5 separate regions of the Homo sapiens genome follow, and regions 2, 3, 4 and 5 are each linked to region 1. Evidence: promoter capture Hi-C in 16 types of primary human blood cells and fetal thymus (Javierre and others, 2016). All regions are on one chromosome and are shown on one strand. The core of a region is centred on a gene start or on the middle of the fragment in contact, and the rest is flanking DNA. Distances in the headings are between cores, read along the strand shown.

Region 1 (3,485 bases), core at 696-3,195:
AGAATCGCTTGAACCCGGGAGGCAGAGGTTGCAGTGAGCCGAGATCATGCCATTGCACTCCAGCCTGGGCAACAAGAGCAAAACTCCATCTCAAAAAAAACAAAAACAAAAACAAAAACAAAAAAAAAACTGACAATGTCATTCTTTCTTAGAACCCTTTAGTTATTTTCCAGTGATACAAAATAAAATCTTGACTCTTAGCTTGCCTTACATCTTGCCCCTCCTAACTTTTCCAGACTAGTCTCCAGTTCCTCCCATTACGTCAGCAGTAGTCAATCCAGCTCCATCAACACCATTCCCTATTGAGCCTGTGACCCAGCCTATTTTGCCTCTGGCCTGAGATCACCTTTTTCACTTTAGTTTCTTATTCAAGACACTGGCATTTCAAACTGACGGGTTTTTTTGAACTCCGTTCACTGTGGTATTGTGGCACCAGTCCACACCTCTAACAGGGCACTAATAACAATAGGTTTGTTTACATGTCACCTCCTCCTCCAGAATGTAAGTTCTTCTCAGTAAACTTTTTATGCCCAATGCCCACAATGGCTTAGAGCATAATAGGGTTTCTTAGGCATTTAATAAATGTTAATTGAATAAATTTGGTTAAAGAGATTATTGTATAAGAAATATGCAGGGGAGTTGAAACATACGACCTCCAAAGTCCTTTCCAACTTAGACTTTCATTGAAGGATATCAGTCCCTTCCATGTTTTTGAATATCACATCTATGTATGACTATGTATACATATGTATATGTATACATGTATGGCTATGTATGACTCCCAGAGCCATAATTTCAAAGCTCTCAATCTGAGCTTTCGACTAAAATATCCATCTGCCTGTTACATAGCTTCACTTATTATCTAAGTTGGCATCTCAAATTCAATACGTCCAAAATTAACTTACTTTCCCACACAACTTGTTCCACCTTAGCAGTTTTTTGTATTTGCTAATGACACCATTGTCCTTTCAGGGACTGCTGTTAAAAACATCCTACATGGCCACTCTCTTCTAAAATAAATCACTGCGTAGACCTCTGCATTCCTCTTTCCTAAAATTCTTTTTGTCGTTCCATAGGCTTACAGTCTCCATCAAACTGCTTGTGACTCTAATTAGCACTTACTTCATTCTGACTTGCATGCTATATTTCCATCTCTGTTCCACATTTCAAGATTTCTGTAGATAGACAGCAGGTGCTCAACAACTCCTTGTAGAATGGCTGCATGAAGGTTGGGATGTTAGGTTTAAATTGCCTTTGCGGCACGGATCTTGTTTTACACTTTTTTGTCCCCCACCCCCCGCCATAAAAAGAGCAGAGAAAACAGGGAACACATATATTAAAAACTGAACACTGCATCTATTATTCTAACTCGGAGCTGTTGCAACAACTGGCGGCAGTTTTAACAAAACAAGCCACGCTCTGCCATTAAAAAAAAAAAAAAAGTCCCTTAGACTCAGCTCCCAGCTAAAACAACCCAGGATCCAGGTTTCCCACCCCCTTCCAGTGGTCTGATGTGCGTCGGAGGAGCGAGGAGAAAGGAGCAAGGAGCAAGCTGGGCCTGAGGAGCAGGGAGCGCGGGATGGGGGACGTCCCGGAAGTCACTGACGAGCTGGCTGCCGCCTCTGCGGGATCAGTTTGGGCTGAGGGCCCAACAATAACAGGCGCCCGGGCCGGGCGGGGGCCGCGGGGATCCGAAGCTGGAGGGCGGGACCTGGATTGGAGGAGGCGGGTGGGACGCCTCCAAAGGCCGAAGGGGATTGGAAGAGGGAGGTAAGGGGCGGTGGAGCTCGAGGAATGGGCCGGAGAACTAGCGGGTCGAGCGAGGAGCGAGCATGCTGATTGGGTTTCGCGGAAGGAGACGGACCAGAGCTGGCCGAGGATTGGCCGCGGTGCCTAGGGGGCGTGGCCGGCGCGCGCGAGAGGGAGCGCGAGGGAGCTGGCTGCGGGCCTGCCTGCCAGCTAGCCGGAGCCGCGGGTGAGCGCGGCGAGCGGCGACCCTGGTGAGGAGCGCGGCGCGGGAGGCACGTTCCTTAGCTCCGCCGCGGCCGTCCTCCGCGGCTCGAGGACTCCGCTTCCTTCCCTCCCCTCCCCTGCGCTCCGGCCTGGGGTCTCGGCGCGGGGAGCGGAGGGAAGGGACGAAGGAGGAGTAGGTGAAAGCGGGGTGAGGGGCGGAAGGGTCCCGGCGCGGGGTGAGGCGAGGGCTGCCTCTTGTTCTCCCGCCGCTGCCGCCGTCTCCTGGTCGGGTGCCGCGGCCAGAGGCGCGCGGGGCTGCCGAGGCACCCGCACTATGCAGGCAGACTGCCGGCCGCCGCGATGGCGAGCCGGGCGGTGGTGAGAGCCAGGCGCTGCCCGCAGTGTCCCCAAGTCCGGGCCGCGGCCGCCGCCCCCGCCTGGGCCGCGCTCCCCCTCTCCCGCTCCCTCCCTCCCTGCTCCAACTCCTCCTCCTTCTCCATGCCTCTGTTCCTCCTGCTCTTACTTGTCCTGCTCCTGCTGCTCGAGGACGCTGGAGCCCAGCAAGGTGAGTGGTCCCAGGGGAGTGAGCGGCGGGGGAACCTCCGTCGGGGCTGCGGGTCTCTTGGCCCCTGAACAAATCTGCAGACGCTGCAGGGAGGCGCGGTGCGCTTTCGTGCGTGGCCGGACCTGGCTGGGTACTCACGGGGTTGAGTTGCAAAGGCAAGGTCTTGCCCGTCTGTCCCCCAAGTTGGCGCGGCTTTACTTTTTGGCAAGGCCATTTATTTTTCTGAAAGGGGGACGTGAGACCCTGCTATGAAAGCCTCGTTGATATTAGGTCCTTCTGGGGAAAATTTTGGGGAGGAAAAAGAACCTTTGGAGGTAATGACCCCTAAAGTTAAGCTGCACGGATGGATGGACACTGTAGGAAGGCAGGTTAATTAAATAGCATCTTAAGCCTATTAAAGGTAAGTGGTGGTAATTATGATCCTTTGTGAAAGAGCCCGGGTTCTGAAGCGAATGGAATAGTTTCTGCTTATCTCTGAGTCTTGGATTCAGAACATGTTCTTTACAATCCATCATTGAGGCTGGTGGTCTAGACTGCCTTGGTCAAACACTGGGTCTGACCCAACGCTATGCTAATTTGCCCAAGTGAAGCTCTCCACATTAAAAAGGTAAGCCTTTCCAGAAAGTGACAAAACTTTTTTTTTTTTCCACCTACAATCCTTGAAAAACCTGTTCCAGAAACAGGCAAAACTGTTTATTAAATACTTATCATAATGGAAGGAGAATGCAGGGTGATTTCTTTTCCCCTTTAGTACTGTTTTCCCGTAGTGTACCACACTTTTTGAATCAGTTTGGCATCAGTTTTTGAAAAGATATTTCCATTGCATTTTCCATTTTATTGCAGTGGGAAGGATAAGGATTGGATTGTTACTTATTGCTAGGAAGAGAGTTTTTTAAAAAGAAAATTGTTCTCTGCCTTTAAGCCCAGCTTTATGTTGCTCTCATGGTTTTCAGTGAAGTATGGAATC
Region 2 (3,485 bases), core at 604-3,103, 890 kb before region 1:
CTATCACAAAATTCAAGCTTTACAATCTTTCTAAATACACTAACAAATCATTTTTTCCCTGGAAAAAATGAAGAAACAGTTGCTAGGCCCATTTTGGATTACTAAGATGAATATAATATGGCTGGTGGGCCTTACCATCAAGGAGTTTGTACTCTTAGTGGGGGTGACAGATGTGTAAACTGTTATTGAGTAGCAAAGGATATCTAGTAAAAAGTAAATTTTCCTCCTACTTCTGTTCTCCAGTATCTAAAATCCCTTATGTTTGAAGCAACAATTTTTCCTCATATTTTTCAGATAGTCTGTGGATATGCACATATCATATACATCCCTTTCAAACATAAATTGCAGTATACTATACACACTTCTATTTTTTGCTTTTTTCACTCAAAGATCAGTACTTATTCCTTGTCTAGTTATGTGCATCTAAACAAATTTCTTTAAGTTCTTCATTTATTAAAATATGACTTGGATGTTCCCTTAAGTCTTTTCTAGCTCTAACATTCAATGTCTGTAAGACAGTTACTAGAGATCTGAAAGTGTTAATCCATACCAGAAATGTGTGGTAATATCTGGTAATGTATAAGCTGGTACTTAATTCTACTTTTGGGGATGAATGAATTTAATTATGGAACCCCAGACTTGTGGTGAAGTCTTTAATAATAAGCTAGCATGTTTGGCCCTTCAGCCTTCCATCAATTCAGTGGATATGTTGGATTATACTTCATAATCTTTAAACCAGGACAATCTAATGAAATACTGGAAAACTGGAAGGAGATGAAATGCCTGGAAGAATACCAGTTGAATTATTTCCTCTCATAGGCTCAGCATATCTGTCCTGTAAACCAGCTCTTTAGGTCTGCCTTCTGCCATTTCTCTGGCTCTTTATCTAAATAAACTTTGTTCAGTTTTAACGTGAATATTTATATAAGGGCCCTGGTTAGAATTTACTGCTTTACTTATTCCTACTAATTTTTCTCCTGTCCCTGAGGATATTTTTGGTGGTCAAAGTGGTATGGGGGTTCTCCCAAATCACTCAAAAGAACATCAAATTTGGGTAACTTTATACAAACACCTGGCAAGAAAGAAGGAGCCTTGGAATTTTTGCTGGGAAGAAATTGTGATAGTGGGTTTTCATGCCTCTCTTTCTGAGAATGTGGGACACAATAATATTGTGAGTTCTCCTTAATATTTTCTTTGATTTCTATTTGTTTGACAGCTGGTGTGTGTGTGTGTGGGTGTGGGTGTGTGTGTGTGTGTGTATTTGTGTTCTTGAACATAAGCATATCTAATGTGTGTGAACATTGAATCTTTGCCAGCCAGGCTGGCTTAGTGATGGGTGTCATGTCATATGACAAAAGCACTGTCAAAGAAGTCAAAAGACTTTTATTTAAGTTTTGGCTCTGCCATTCTTCATGCCTATGACCTTGGACAAGTCCTTTATCTTCACTAAGCCTCAGTTTTCTTACCTGTAAAATAGCAATTATAATCTCTGCCCATCCCTCAGAGCTGTTCAGGGGTACAAATGATAATATGAATTCTTCATAAGCCAAAAAGGACTATTCAGATTTAAGTTATTATTAATGGAGTGTGACCAGAAAGACAAATCAAAACCAACTAAAATGTCAAAGATTTTCAAAGAAAGATACTAGCAAAGTAAATGTGAGGTTAACTGCAATAATGATAACCTAACATGAATAAAACAGTAATGGCCATTAAAATGCACTTGTTAAAAATGATTTAGAAAAAGAACAGCTGAACCAAGGCAGTCATTCATTCATGTGTCAAGAATAACCAATCCTAGATACTTTGAACAGCCCTAAATGGCTTCCTATATTTGAGCAGGGCTGCAGAGAATTTCAGATTCCTCATATGACCTGTAATGTACATAACAGAGTAATGTGATACATATATTAACAGAATAATGTGATAGATATTTTAAATGCTCATCAGCATTCTATTTGTACGTTTATCCTCATTGGCTTACTATACAGAAGAATGTTTAAATATTTAATCTGTTGGTCCTTGCCTTGAATCCAACTTTCCCTTTCACATAGGCTAACACAGCATGTCTTTGTGTATGTATGTGTGTCTCTGTTGTGTGTGGTGTGTATAAGCCTCTCTAATCAGTTCCTGGGCTGGTCCTCTGTGCCTCCTACTTGTACAAGATTTGTAGTCTCTCAAGACCCTCAGATTTGCCACCCTAAAGCAAGGGAAAGTCAGGCAGAATCCTCTTCCAGTGTTCACCAGAATTGCCTTCCTGGTTTTTCCATGCCTCTCAAAGAAAATTCTCTCTTGATTGCATTTCTCAGGGCAATTCATTCATTAGATATACCTATTGAACACCTATTGAACACTCAGAACAGGAAATGTTCTGAGTATTGGAGATACAGTGGTGAATTAGAGAGTGGAGGTATTATCTTATTGAACTCACAGTCTAGTGTGGAGAGACAGGTGATAAATGTTAAAAATACATTTTATAATTTGAGATTTGAGTGCTTTGAAAAAGCAATGCAGGTGTCTTAGTCATTAGGGCTGCTGTAGCAAAATACCATAGGTTGAGTGGTTTATAAAGAACAGCAATTTCTCAGTGTTCATGAGGCTGGGAAGTTCAAGATCAAGGTGCCAGCAGATTGGTTGTCTAGTGAAGACCCACTTTCTGGTTCATAGATGACACCATTTTGCTGTATCCTTACATGATAAAAGGGGCAAGGGAGCTCTCTGGAGTCTCTTTTATATGAGCACTAATTCTGTTCATGAGGACTTTGCACTCATGATCTAATTATCTCCCATAGGCCCCACCTCCTAATACCATCACTTTCGGAGGGGGGTGTCATATTTTAACATATGAATTTGGGGACATAAACATTCAATGTATAGCAGCAGGATAAAGGGTTCAATAATGACAGAGTGGAAGAGCTCCGATGTTTTGGAAAGAACGGTAGGGAATGACATCTGAGGAAGTAAATTTTGGATAGAGATGTGAAGGTTGAGAGATGTATCTTTCTTAAGACAACGTATGGGGAAAAAAGGAAAGAGTCCTGTTTACTACAATGTTAGTTGAAGGTACCTTTCACTAATATAGACTCATTTCAAAAGTATGTTCTTCATCCATGCCTGACCTCATTTTGAATTCTTTATTTACGATATTCTTTTTTCCTGGAAGATAATTATTTTCCTTTTATTTCTCTGTAGATTTCAGTCCTACCATATAGTTTTCTCTGGTTGTCATAACAAAGTATCTCAGACTGGGTGGCTCAATAGAAATTAATTTTCTCACAGTTCTAGAGACATTGAAGTTCAAGATCAAGATATTGGCAGAGTTGGATTCTGCTGGAGCCTCTCGCCTTGGCTTGTAGATGGCAGTCACCTCCCTGCGTCTTCACACAGTCTTTCTTCCATGTGTCTGTGTCCTAATTGCCTCTTCTTATTTACCAGCCACACTGGTCACCCTAGTGACCTCATTTTAACTTAATTTCCTCTTTAAA
Region 3 (3,485 bases), core at 445-2,944, 860 kb after region 1:
GGTGGTGCATTGGTATGAAATTCTAACAGCTGCATCAGCTGAGGTCAGTGTCAGCAAATACTATGGGGGCACTTGATGGCAAAATTTGTGGGTGTCCATGGCAGCAGCAATAGTTTCTTGGGCCCTTCTGTTCTCCATTTCTCCCACAGATGGAGTCTTCTCTGAGAAATATGGGCATATTTCTCAATGGTACCAGGGCCCAGAAAGTAGGTGCATGCATAGCAGTGGCAGCACTGGAGCCCAGGGAGATATATTAATATTAGAGACAAAAAGGTCAGGTGGCAATGGAAATACAAAGGGCAGGAAAATGCAAAAGTAGCTCTGAAGCAAAAAACGAAGAAAGATTTTGAAAGGGAGTAATTAAAGATGACTCAAAATCTCAATCCTGGAAAACAGGGACCTTATTGGTAATCTTAATGAAATTCATAACATTGGAAGATCATACTACATTAATAAAGATGCATGAGATTGATAGCTGATATTAATTTTGTCAATTATGGTATCTTCAATGTATCAAACATTGTGCTAAACATACAGTCTCATAAATTCTGACTTTAACCTTAAAAGATAGGTCCTAGTATTATTCCTCTTAACTATATATAAAGTAACTGACTCAACAAAAAATCTTAGGTCATTTTCAATGTTCAGACAAGTAGTAAATGGAAGAATAGATGTTTGTACCCACAAAAACTGACACCAAATATCCCAATAAAGATTATCGCTATTGTCTCTTCTTAACCACTGTGTTTTATTGCTTCCTCAGGGGTCTCAAAAGTCACCTACATACATGTGCTTAATGAATACAGAAGAGGAAATTGAAGTCCAGGAAGTTTAAGAAACTTTTTAAAAATCATGCAGTAAGTACCATATCCAGTCCCAGAGCCATGTGCCCTAGTGTTTTATTTAGTGCCCTTTAGAAACTTTACTCATAACAGGTACTTCATTCTAATAGAAAGCTTATTTTTCTACAATGTTCACCTCTGTCTCTTACCGTTCCCACAAACAAAATGCTGTTCTTAGGTGTAGGTAAAAAGTGAAATCTTAAAAATAAATTAGTGTTCAATCAGAGAAACCAATAAACCTCATTAGTCAATTATTCGAGGTAAATAATTGCATTTTCCTCAATAACGGGGTGTGTGGGTTTTTTATCTGAATCATTTGGTATTATATCATTAATCTTTTCAGTTCATTCTGCCAGTATTGGTAAGTGAAAATTATTCACTACAAGTGCTGAATAATTTGCATTTACCAATACTACATAAGAAAGTTTTCCTAAGGAGGCAAATTCGAGACAATAGTAATTTGGATGAGAATGTGTATCCTATGCTTCCATCTAGTGGTGGTCTTGCGCTATTACACGATGATGAAGACTGCTTTGCTTTAGTGTCATCCTCTTGCCTGTAAAACAGAGCAAGATTCTTCAGGTGTCCTCACTCGTATCACAGCTGATTCTGTATGCCAGGAAGGATGTGATAAGAGACTGAAACAAGGGTCGTGGGGGGGACGATGGTCTACTGGGTATGAAAAAACGATGATCTACTGGTTATCTGGTAATTCTGGGAACTGGAGAGGAAACAGGATTTCTGAGTGAGAGCAGGGTTTTTTGGAAGGATAGCAAATGCCCCCTACTGGCTGCTCTAGGCATGGCCAGTTATATTTCCAATGCATCAAAGCAAAACAGTTACGCGCAATTTGATGACGGGGACAAACTCAGAGAAATGCGTTGTTAGGTGATTTCCTCATTGTGCAAACATTGTAGAGTATACTTACACAAAACTCTATGGTCTAGCCTACTGCACACCTATGCTATATGATATTACTCCTAGGCCACAAACCTATACAGCACGTTATTATACCAAATACTATAGGCAATTGTAACACAATGGTACGTATTTGTGTATCTAAACATGTATAAACATAGACAAAATAGAAAAGGTTCAGTTAAAATGCAGTATAAAAGATGAATTGTATAGGGCACTTACCATGAATGGAGTTAACAGGACTGAAAGTTGTTCTGGGTGAGTTAGTGAGTTGTTCTGGGTGACTGAGTGTGAAAGCCCAAGACATGACTGTACACTACTGTCAACTGTACACTTAGGCTATACTAAATTTATACAAAATATTTTTCTTTCTTCAATAATAAATTAACCTTAGCTTATTGGAGAACTGCAGTCATATATGTGGTCCATCACTGACCAAAACGTCGTTGTGCAGCACATGACTGTAAATATGAAAACTAAATTAGTTGATCACTTAACCTCTCTAGTCCTAGCTTCCTCTGCATAAAAGAGAGCAGGAGAGACATTAAATGTAGTCTAAATGATTTCCAAAAGTCTTTCCCTATTAAGATTTTATGACTCTACAATTTGCAAATCAAGATATTTTGCCTAGATGACATCCTGCAGACACAGTGGGAAATTTATAGAAGCTTGGAATTTGTTGTTGTTGCTGTTGTCAGATCCAGTCTAAATAAGACCTTAGCTTTTCTTTTGTTTTCTCTTTATAGGCAAAATAATGGCTACATACCCCAAGATTGGCGACACAGCCATCCTTTCCAAATTTTCTCTTTATGTCGCTGCCAAAGAAATAAAAACTGGCTGACTGACATCATCAGAGTGGAAGAAGAGTAAACAGGAGACAATTTATGCAAGGGAGAGCTTAAACTACTACGAAATTCTCCAGTGACCCTGTGATTCATTTTGTTTCCTGGTAGTTACCACTTTCTAGTTCTGACAGATGTGCTTTTCTGCTTTTTTTTTTTTTCTTAAGAAGCTTACTGAGCTTGCAAAGGGAAGCTCTAAAGGAATAAGGTTAAGGAGCTAACTCAGCATCAACAGAGGCAGATGCCTTCTTGTAATTGAACTAAAACCCTTAGACTTTCTGTAAGTCAACTCTCTCTAGTGTAAGCCATTGCCTTATTTTTATTTTTATGCAGACCATTTCCCACTTAAAATTCATCATCAAAAAACAAACTGCTTTTATTTCTTCCTTAATGTTTATAGCGATATAGATAGTCTAGCAAAGATTATTCAGTAAAGAGGTCAGACAGATTCTCATCATGATTCATCCCTGCGATGCAGAAGGAGACACCAGGGCATCCTAACATAATTTAAGTGACAGTGAGGAGGCATATGACTTGACAGATATTTCCGAAAAATAAGTGCCCCAAATAGCTCCACTGAGTCCTGTAAAGAGGACATCTTCTATTCCAGTGCTTCATTCCTTCAGATCAAAGACCACTTCGTGAAGTCTCCTCTTCAATCTTGCTTATTCTTTATCAGCTACCAATATTTCTTTGCGAACGTAAAAGTTTAGCAGTCATCAAAGGTTGTCTCAAGATGATAGGACACAGAATTTTGGTAAGGAGAATGTGCAAAGCACCAATTTGCCTATAAATGAGAATCTCACTGATTTACCTATGAATGAGAACTGGCTGTCATGGAGGAGTACTATTTTGGGAGAATGTAAGTATCGTGGTTTTCTTT
Region 4 (3,485 bases), core at 709-3,208, 850 kb before region 1:
CACTTTAGAATAACTTATACAAATTTTAAAAGGTTTTAGATTCAAAGATCTCAAGGAACACTTGATACAAGGATAGATTCATGCTGATCAGGCTGAGTGACAGTAGCCTCTAAAATCCAGTCTAGATTCTATGCTGTAAAAATGTGAGGCTTCTGTTTTCTCATTAAATACTTTCTGAAAAGGGCCTTAGTTTGGGAACAGATGTATCCCATTCAATTCCTTCTTCATTTCTCATTTTTATTTCTTTACTAGTTTTCATCCATAGGTACTCAATAGCTACGGCAGATAAAATGATGGTGATGGAAAAAAGGCCAGCCCTGAGCATGAGGTCAGAACTGATAAAGGTAAATGAACTGATATAAGTTTAAGTCAGGCTAGAATCTTAGACATGGATCTTAGAAGATTAGACAGAATTAATACGGCAGTCAAAAGAAGTCATCTTTTGGGGCTACCAGCCTGACAATTATGTAGTTATTTGTTTAACTTTTCAGGTCGGCAGTGCTCCCCAGCAAAGAGTATGAAGAATGGGTGAGAAATGTAGACCCCATAAAATCTGTAGGAACCTAAGATAAAAATCTGTTAATGCTTAGTCAATGTCATGAATGGTCAACAAGAGGTTAACTGTGACACCAGAGAAAGAGTGTATTAGACAAGAGTTGCACCCCGAGGAAGAAAAGTTTCTGCCAACATTTTTATTAGGTTTCACCTGACAAAATGAATTTTGATATAAAAACAAGTAGAAAGAAAAGATTCCTGTCTAATTTATTTTTCCCCTTTAAATTCAGCAATTTATTCAAGCTTTTCTTTATTCATTTCTTTATTCAACAAAGATTTGCTGAATGCCAACTATTTGCCAGGTGCAGTTCTAATTGCTGGGGATACAGCAAGAAGACAGAAAAGTCCCTGTCTTTCTAGAGTTTATATGCCATTAGAATTTCGTTTCTTCTTCATCTACAAAAATGACCATAGCTAATTCAGATCCATCAGAGAAGCTAAAATATTTAAAAGGAGCATTCTCTGTAAAAAGTAGGGACTGAAAAAGAAACCACATTTCCTTGGAATTTAGTGATCCTTCAGTTTTCTCTGCATATGGATCTTTACACTACTGTTTACATAGTTTTGGCTCTATGCTGGATTTACTGCTGATTTTGGCTAAGACGTTTGTATCCCCAAAGTGAGTGTTTTCTTGATCATGCTTAGGTGACGTGATGGTACTGTCCCCAAATCTTTGAGTCCAAGTTCAGCACAGCGTAGCTGCCTGGAAATTGAAGACCCTGGTTCCCATAAAAGAACCACTGGCTCAGAGACCAAGCACATTTCTTCCCATTTCTACTGTAACATTTATTTCTCAAGAGTATAAATCTCAGGCCGATATTTAACATTCTTTTTAACTGAACTGTGGACGTTTTCCTTGTACTTCTTGAAATAGTTAGGAGCTAAGCTTCTATTATTCATATTTATAAACATGTCCTAAACAGGAGGCATGATTTTATAATTCATGAGTCTTTGAAACTATTTTTACAAAGGAACACTTAGAAATATTACATCATATCAGGACCATGGTCTGGTTCAGAATTCTAAGAGTGGAATACTCCATGTGGCAGAATATAATTATTGCTATACATGGCTTATCCTAAAACAGGTGGTGACATTTTCTAAAGATTCTTGGACTAAAAGTCTTTTTCACTTTCAAAAATGAATTCTCAAATTGAGTTCACTGGTACAATTGGAGGATTATAAGATTCAGAAAATGATTCTACCCCAAGCTCCCCTATTTTGATAAATGGTATTCGTACTTATCTAGTTGCTCAGGCTCAAAGTGCAGGAGACATTCTCGATATCTCTTCTTCTCACACATCCAATCCATCTGCAAGTTTTATGATCTCTTTAATGAAAATGTATCCTGAGTCACTGGGCACCGATCATGTTTTGCCTGGACCAGTGCCTTACCTCCCTGTCTCCATTCATGTGCGGAGTCCAATCTCCTCAGAGAAACCAGAGTAATGATTTAAAGAAGTAGACCAGATCCTGTCACTCTGTTCAAAATCCACCTGTGGCTCCCCACCCCAGTTCATGTAAACTCTGAACTCCCCTCCACAGCCTGCAAGACCTAAGCGATCTGGCTCCGCTCTCTTCTTTGACACCATCTGCTCTTTAGTTACCAGGCTCTGGCCAGTGGTCTTCTTGCCATCTTGCAACAAGCCAAACTGGTTCTCAGCCTTGGGACTTCCCATTTGCCTGAACTGTCTTCCAGATCATTGTGTTGCATGGCCTTGCCTTCTTCAGATCTCAGATCACATGTCACCTCCTCAGAGTGGCTTGTGTTGACCATTCAATTTTAAACAGCATCCCTCATCCTATCATTCTCTATCCCTTTCCCTTATTTGATTTTTCTTCATGATCAACATGGTATTAAATATTTATTTATATTCACATTTATCAACTCTTCTCCAACTAGACAGAATGTAAGCTTTAAGGGTAGAATGGCATTTTTGCCCTCATTCACTGCTAAACTCCCCAACCTAAAACAGTGCCAGCCACATAGCAGATTCTCAACACATATTGGTTGAGTGAATTAATGGAGTGTTTACTATCCTTGAAGTCTAATTATTCATTTACTTCTACTATATTTGTATAAAGAACTTTTAAAAAACTCAACTATCAGAGGGAGTCATCTTATTTCAGGATTTGATTGTTAAACTATAATTGTGGGGCCAAGCATAGGCCTAATAACTAGGATATATGAACCCTCACTTATTTTTTCAAGTTGTTTAAAGTTTCTTTGCTTCAATTTCCTTTGTTTTTCTTTACACTTCTGTGTGTCAATATCTTTATTTCTCAAATGGTGTTGATAATAAGCTTATCTAGCCTAATTTTAGGGTTGCTTTGGTGACTAAATATGTGCAAATACTTGAAATGACATCAAGAAATCTACTAAAATGAGGTACTGATAGTTTACCCTACTGTATTTTAATTGTTACCCATTATTCCTCTGACTCTATGTTTATTTTTCCTTCATTACCATGAATTTGATGCCAGCAAGTCTTAGCATGTTACACATATACAGGTGCAAAGAAACCTAGTACTGTAGTACTTTGGTTTGATAACTCTGGTTTGGTCTATTGAGATAAATTATTTGGTAACTGAGATGTTTTAGATAAGGAGCTAAAAGGATTATCAGGGACCTGGTTTTTAAATCCAAGAAGATCTCTGGTAAGAGAAGGTTGGAGTGAGAGGGGGTTGAACCTCAATCCACTGGCAAATATGTGATCTTTCTGTAGGAGTTCTTTGGTGAGGACCCTTGGGAGGCAGAGAACAGGCAGGGATGCAGAGCTCAGGTGCACAGGCCAAGTACAGTATTCAGAAAAATAAAGGAAATGTGTATCTTTCTTATTGAGCTCTTTAATTCTCCCACAAACACCATGAGTGTTATTGTTTACTGCTAGCACTTATGGACGATAGACCAGGAGATCAAACCTCTTGTC
Region 5 (3,485 bases), core at 681-3,180, 740 kb before region 1:
ATAACTGGAAGCTCATTTAAACTGGGAGCATTTCCCCCTCCACCCCAAGAAAAGATAACTTCCCTCAAGGGGATCTGGTGAATGAAGCAGCGTATTTTCATCCTTGTGATAATGGGTGTGAGTCAGGCACTACCATAAAAGAAGAATTAACTTGAATGTGCCACATACTTGGTCTGGCCTTGTCCCATACCTGTACTCTTGTCATGGTTGATTACCTATGTGCATCAGATATAAAGCAAGCAGTCTGCATTGTGGCATGAGATAAAAGGTATGTTAATATGCTCAGGTCACATACTATCTTGGCCAATAGTAATTTTATATAATTTGCTTAAAGGAAACTGCACTTCTTGCAATATTTTTTTCCAATGAAGAAAAATTTAACGTGACAGAAGCTTTATATATAACTCTTGCATTTGAGTAACAGCATTGAATCCTCTCCATCTCAAGCAGAACTTTTAAATATTTTTATTACTTTTGATATGCAAAAGCTAAGGAGAAATGGTTTGGAAGACCTAAGTTAAATTTCTAATGAGTCTTGTTTCTTTAATAGGGGAGAATTTCATACAGCTTCGGTGAGTTTTTTCTTTCCACATGAGATAATATAAACAAACAAAAAAATAAAAAAGTGAAACATTTCTCTTCTTACTTTAAGAACCTTAAGGGCTAAAAGAGTGGTTTGGTTTCCTGACTGGTACTTTTGGTTTGCCTTCTCTAAGTGGTCTTGAGCAATTCCCCAGAGGAAACATTTGAAGAGGGTTTTTCTCCCACTTGAGAGAGTTTCATCCCACACAACCCACAGAATTTGATGGCAAACTTCATGGACCAAGTGTCTGGTTTTACAGAAGTGGCTGTGGAGTATGTTTTTCCTTTCACAGGTGCACATTTATTCTACCTTAGGAATAAGAAGAGATCATTTTCTTTTAAAGAGGGTAGCTTAAACACTGAATATCTCTGATAATTGGATGCCAGTCAGGTAGGTTGTGATTTACTAAATGCGGGGGAAAAAAGGTGGAAAGAAGGATTAAAACTTCCAAAGCCTTTCTCGCTGATCTTTCTTTACAACCATCTGGTGTGCACAGAAGTATTGTATAATCTGGCCTGTATTATTCTCTTACTGTGAAACATATTGAAACACTTTATGTTTAGGTGTGTGTACAGAAATTCATGAAGTTCTTTTATACACTTTCTTAGTTCCATCGTAATTCTCATTTTAGGATGTCGTGAAAAGATAGCCTGGTGAGAGAGCACATTCTACCCTGGCTTGTGAATTTGGATTTGTTCCTTCCTATCTACCAGCCACCTGATTACTTACTGTCCCCGTGCAAAGGGCACCCGTTCACATCATTTTTTTCCAAGCGCTAAAACCTGGAAAGATATTTTTTTAAAGGACTCACAGAAGCTGTCTTGGGGGTTTGGAAAACATCACAAAATTGTTAGCAGACCTTTTGACTGTGCTATTTTTAGGAAGTTAACTGTGTTCTTTTAAAGTACATTTTTGACAATGGGACAACGTTTTCCTTGCCCCCACTGATGTGTGAAATATGTACAGTGAAAAACGTCAGTACAACACCCCAAACAGATACATTTTAACCTAAGCAACAGTCAGCAACAGGAGAAAAAGTGATTTAAAAAGAGAAAGGTTTCGCAATATTTATGCTGCTGTTTCTTCCCTGAAGGAGCTTTTATTTTACCATTCAAACAGAAGTTTGTTTTCAAACCAGTTGCTAGTTAAAGGAGCAGCGGATCGCGCATCCGTAAGAATCAGCTCTAACCAAACAGCAAACGCGTTGGCCAGAGGGTGACTTATTCCCCCATAGCAACCCCTGGTAGGTGAGCTGCCTGCAGAAGTGCTGTCTTACCTTGAGCACGTAAGATCAGGGAGAGAGGCTCGCTGGCTCCCACGGAGAGGATCGGGGAAGGGCTGTGATCCGCTGCTGGTAACATGCACTTGGCTTTTATGGGCAGGTGGGAGGAGCTGCTCCTCATAGTAGGTGGGCAGGGAAGGAGCGGCGGGCGGGCAGCCTCTGGAGGAGCTGGACACTCTTCTCTGGGGAGGGGCGGGCAGAGACTGGAGCCCGCAAGGCGGAGGAGAGACGACGGGGCGGGGGGAGGGGGAGCGCGGTCACAACGGAGGAAGGAGTGGAAAAGGGAGAGAGAGGGAGAAGGGAAAAAAGAGAGGGAACTAGAAATAGTGAAAGGGATCTTGACCACAGATGGGGAAAGGTGGGGGAGAAAATGAATAGCAGAGACAGAGAGAGAGAGAGTGTCTGGGAGGAAAGGGGAATCGGAGTATTTTCCGTTTTTGCATGACATTTTTTGGCAGAGGGAGTTGTGGGTGATTGTGACTTTTGAAGGTGTTTTCTGTGAATTTGGGAATTTGAAAAGCTACATAGCGGTCCGGGAGAACTGAAGGGTTTCTAAGCGAGGCAAGGGAGGTGAAGCTGGGCGTCCGGGCAGCAGAGCCAAAGTTCAGGGTGGACCCGGACCTGGAGCTGGAGGCACTGACATGGCCTGGAGCCAGGCAGCCCCCAGCCCTCAGCCCCGTCCCACCGCCCGCGGGTGAAAATCGCCCCATCCCTCTCCCTCCAGGCAAGGCTTATTTGACAAGGAAGTTCCTGCGCTGCCTGTCCTCTGAGCATCCAGAGGCCCCTTTTGAGACTTCGGCAGCATTAAAGTAAATCCAGCAACGGGGAGGATTCGCGTGGACTTGCTTGTGGAGACAGGAACCTCAGAACCAGCCTGGGTCTTCCAGCATCTGCTTATGTAACGTAGGATTTCAGAGCTCTCTGCCCTCTGGTTATTTTCGGTATTTAAAACACTCTCATTCCTAACAATCGGAAAACGTCTTGGTGCCACAGTTCTTTCTCAGTGTGTCTTAAACATTAAGAGAGGATTCAACCAACAAGTGGCTAAAGGATCAGTCTGAAATTACTAAGAAATGCATTCAGAGAAAGAAAAACAAGCTCCTTTCGCTGCTGAGTGGTGACTCACTTCCTAGCCCAAGCCTGATTTTTGCCACCAAAGGAATTAAAGCATTTTAAAAGAGAACCTGAGACTTGGGGTGGGAGATACAGTACCGGGAGGGGGAAAAGGCGGGAATGGGAGGGGGGAGGGATGGGTAGGCTGGAAATAATAAAGGAACGAACTTGTACTGAATATGTATATATGTACTTCATTCAGTGTTCACCGCAACCTTATGAGGTAGGTATGATTCATATTGTGCAGATTTATTTATTTTTTTTTTAATTTAAAGAAAGGCATCTCTAAGGGTTTAAATAACTAGCTCAAGCTAGCGAGAGGGGGAGCCACAGCTAGCGAGCTTGCAAACCTTAGGCACTCTTCAGTACACCAGGCTGCCGTATAGAACACCTAGGTTCGTCTCAGGTTAGATCCTGATGTCATTGGCTGGTAGCAGGCTCCAAGAGAAGGAAACTTGATGGTGAAGAGCAGAATTACTCAAACTTAGCACTACTGAAACTTTCGGG

The links. The method cuts DNA at HindIII sites, captures the fragments that hold promoters and counts their contacts. A CHiCAGO score of 5 or more calls a contact.
Region 2: a fragment that was not itself captured here is called in contact with the fragment with the promoter of DCBLD2 in region 1 in 1 of 17 cell types (naive CD4 T cells); the score reaches 5.3 in naive CD4 T cells.
Region 3: a fragment that was not itself captured here is called in contact with the fragment with the promoter of DCBLD2 in region 1 in 8 of 17 cell types (activated CD4 T cells, monocytes, naive CD8 T cells and 5 more); the score reaches 8.2 in activated CD4 T cells.
Region 4: a contact is called between a fragment that was not itself captured here and the fragment with the promoter of DCBLD2 in region 1, in 4 of 17 cell types (M1 macrophages, naive B cells, naive CD4 T cells and 1 more). The highest score is 7.2, in M1 macrophages.
Region 5: the fragment with the promoter of COL8A1 here is called in contact with the fragment with the promoter of DCBLD2 in region 1 in 2 of 17 cell types (total CD4 T cells and M0 macrophages); the score reaches 7.8 in total CD4 T cells.

Annotation. Positions count from the first base shown.
Region 1 is chr3:98,900,155-98,903,639 of GRCh38, reverse strand. DCBLD2 (discoidin, CUB and LCCL domain containing 2) reads left to right here and starts at 1,945. Exons shown (of 16, transcript NM_080927.4): 1 at 1,945-2,518. The coding sequence starts at 2,314. It overlaps LOC105374002 (a long non-coding RNA gene), which reads right to left and starts at 1,626. Exons shown (of 2, transcript NR_189121.1): 1 at 1,123-1,626. RefSeq lists silencers at 1,627-1,676, 1,817-2,506 and enhancers at 1,614-2,329, 2,330-3,046. The HindIII fragment of the contact is 5,361 bases long and covers 1-3,485 here.
Region 2 is chr3:99,785,632-99,789,116 of GRCh38, reverse strand. All of the region lies in intron 2 of COL8A1 (collagen type VIII alpha 1 chain), which reads right to left. Among named protein-coding and RNA genes, the nearest start is that of CMSS1, 30 kb to the left of the region's middle. The HindIII fragment of the contact is 3,668 bases long and covers 20-3,485 here.
Region 3 is chr3:98,037,637-98,041,121 of GRCh38, reverse strand. No RefSeq gene overlaps it. Among named protein-coding and RNA genes, the nearest start is that of GABRR3, 4.1 kb to the right of the region's middle. RefSeq lists an enhancer at 1,483-1,777. The HindIII fragment of the contact is 1,472 bases long and covers 959-2,430 here.
Region 4 is chr3:99,754,475-99,757,959 of GRCh38, reverse strand. All of the region lies in intron 2 of COL8A1 (collagen type VIII alpha 1 chain), which reads right to left. Among named protein-coding and RNA genes, the nearest start is that of CMSS1, 62 kb to the left of the region's middle. The HindIII fragment of the contact is 1,029 bases long and covers 1,444-2,472 here.
Region 5 is chr3:99,637,039-99,640,523 of GRCh38, reverse strand. COL8A1 (collagen type VIII alpha 1 chain) reads right to left here and starts at 1,930. Exons shown (of 4, transcript NM_020351.4): 1 at 1,860-1,930. It overlaps LOC124909401 (a long non-coding RNA gene), which reads left to right and starts at 1,844. Exons shown (of 2, transcript XR_007095981.1): 1 at 1,844-1,937; 2 at 2,590-3,156. The HindIII fragment of the contact is 3,484 bases long and covers 395-3,485 here.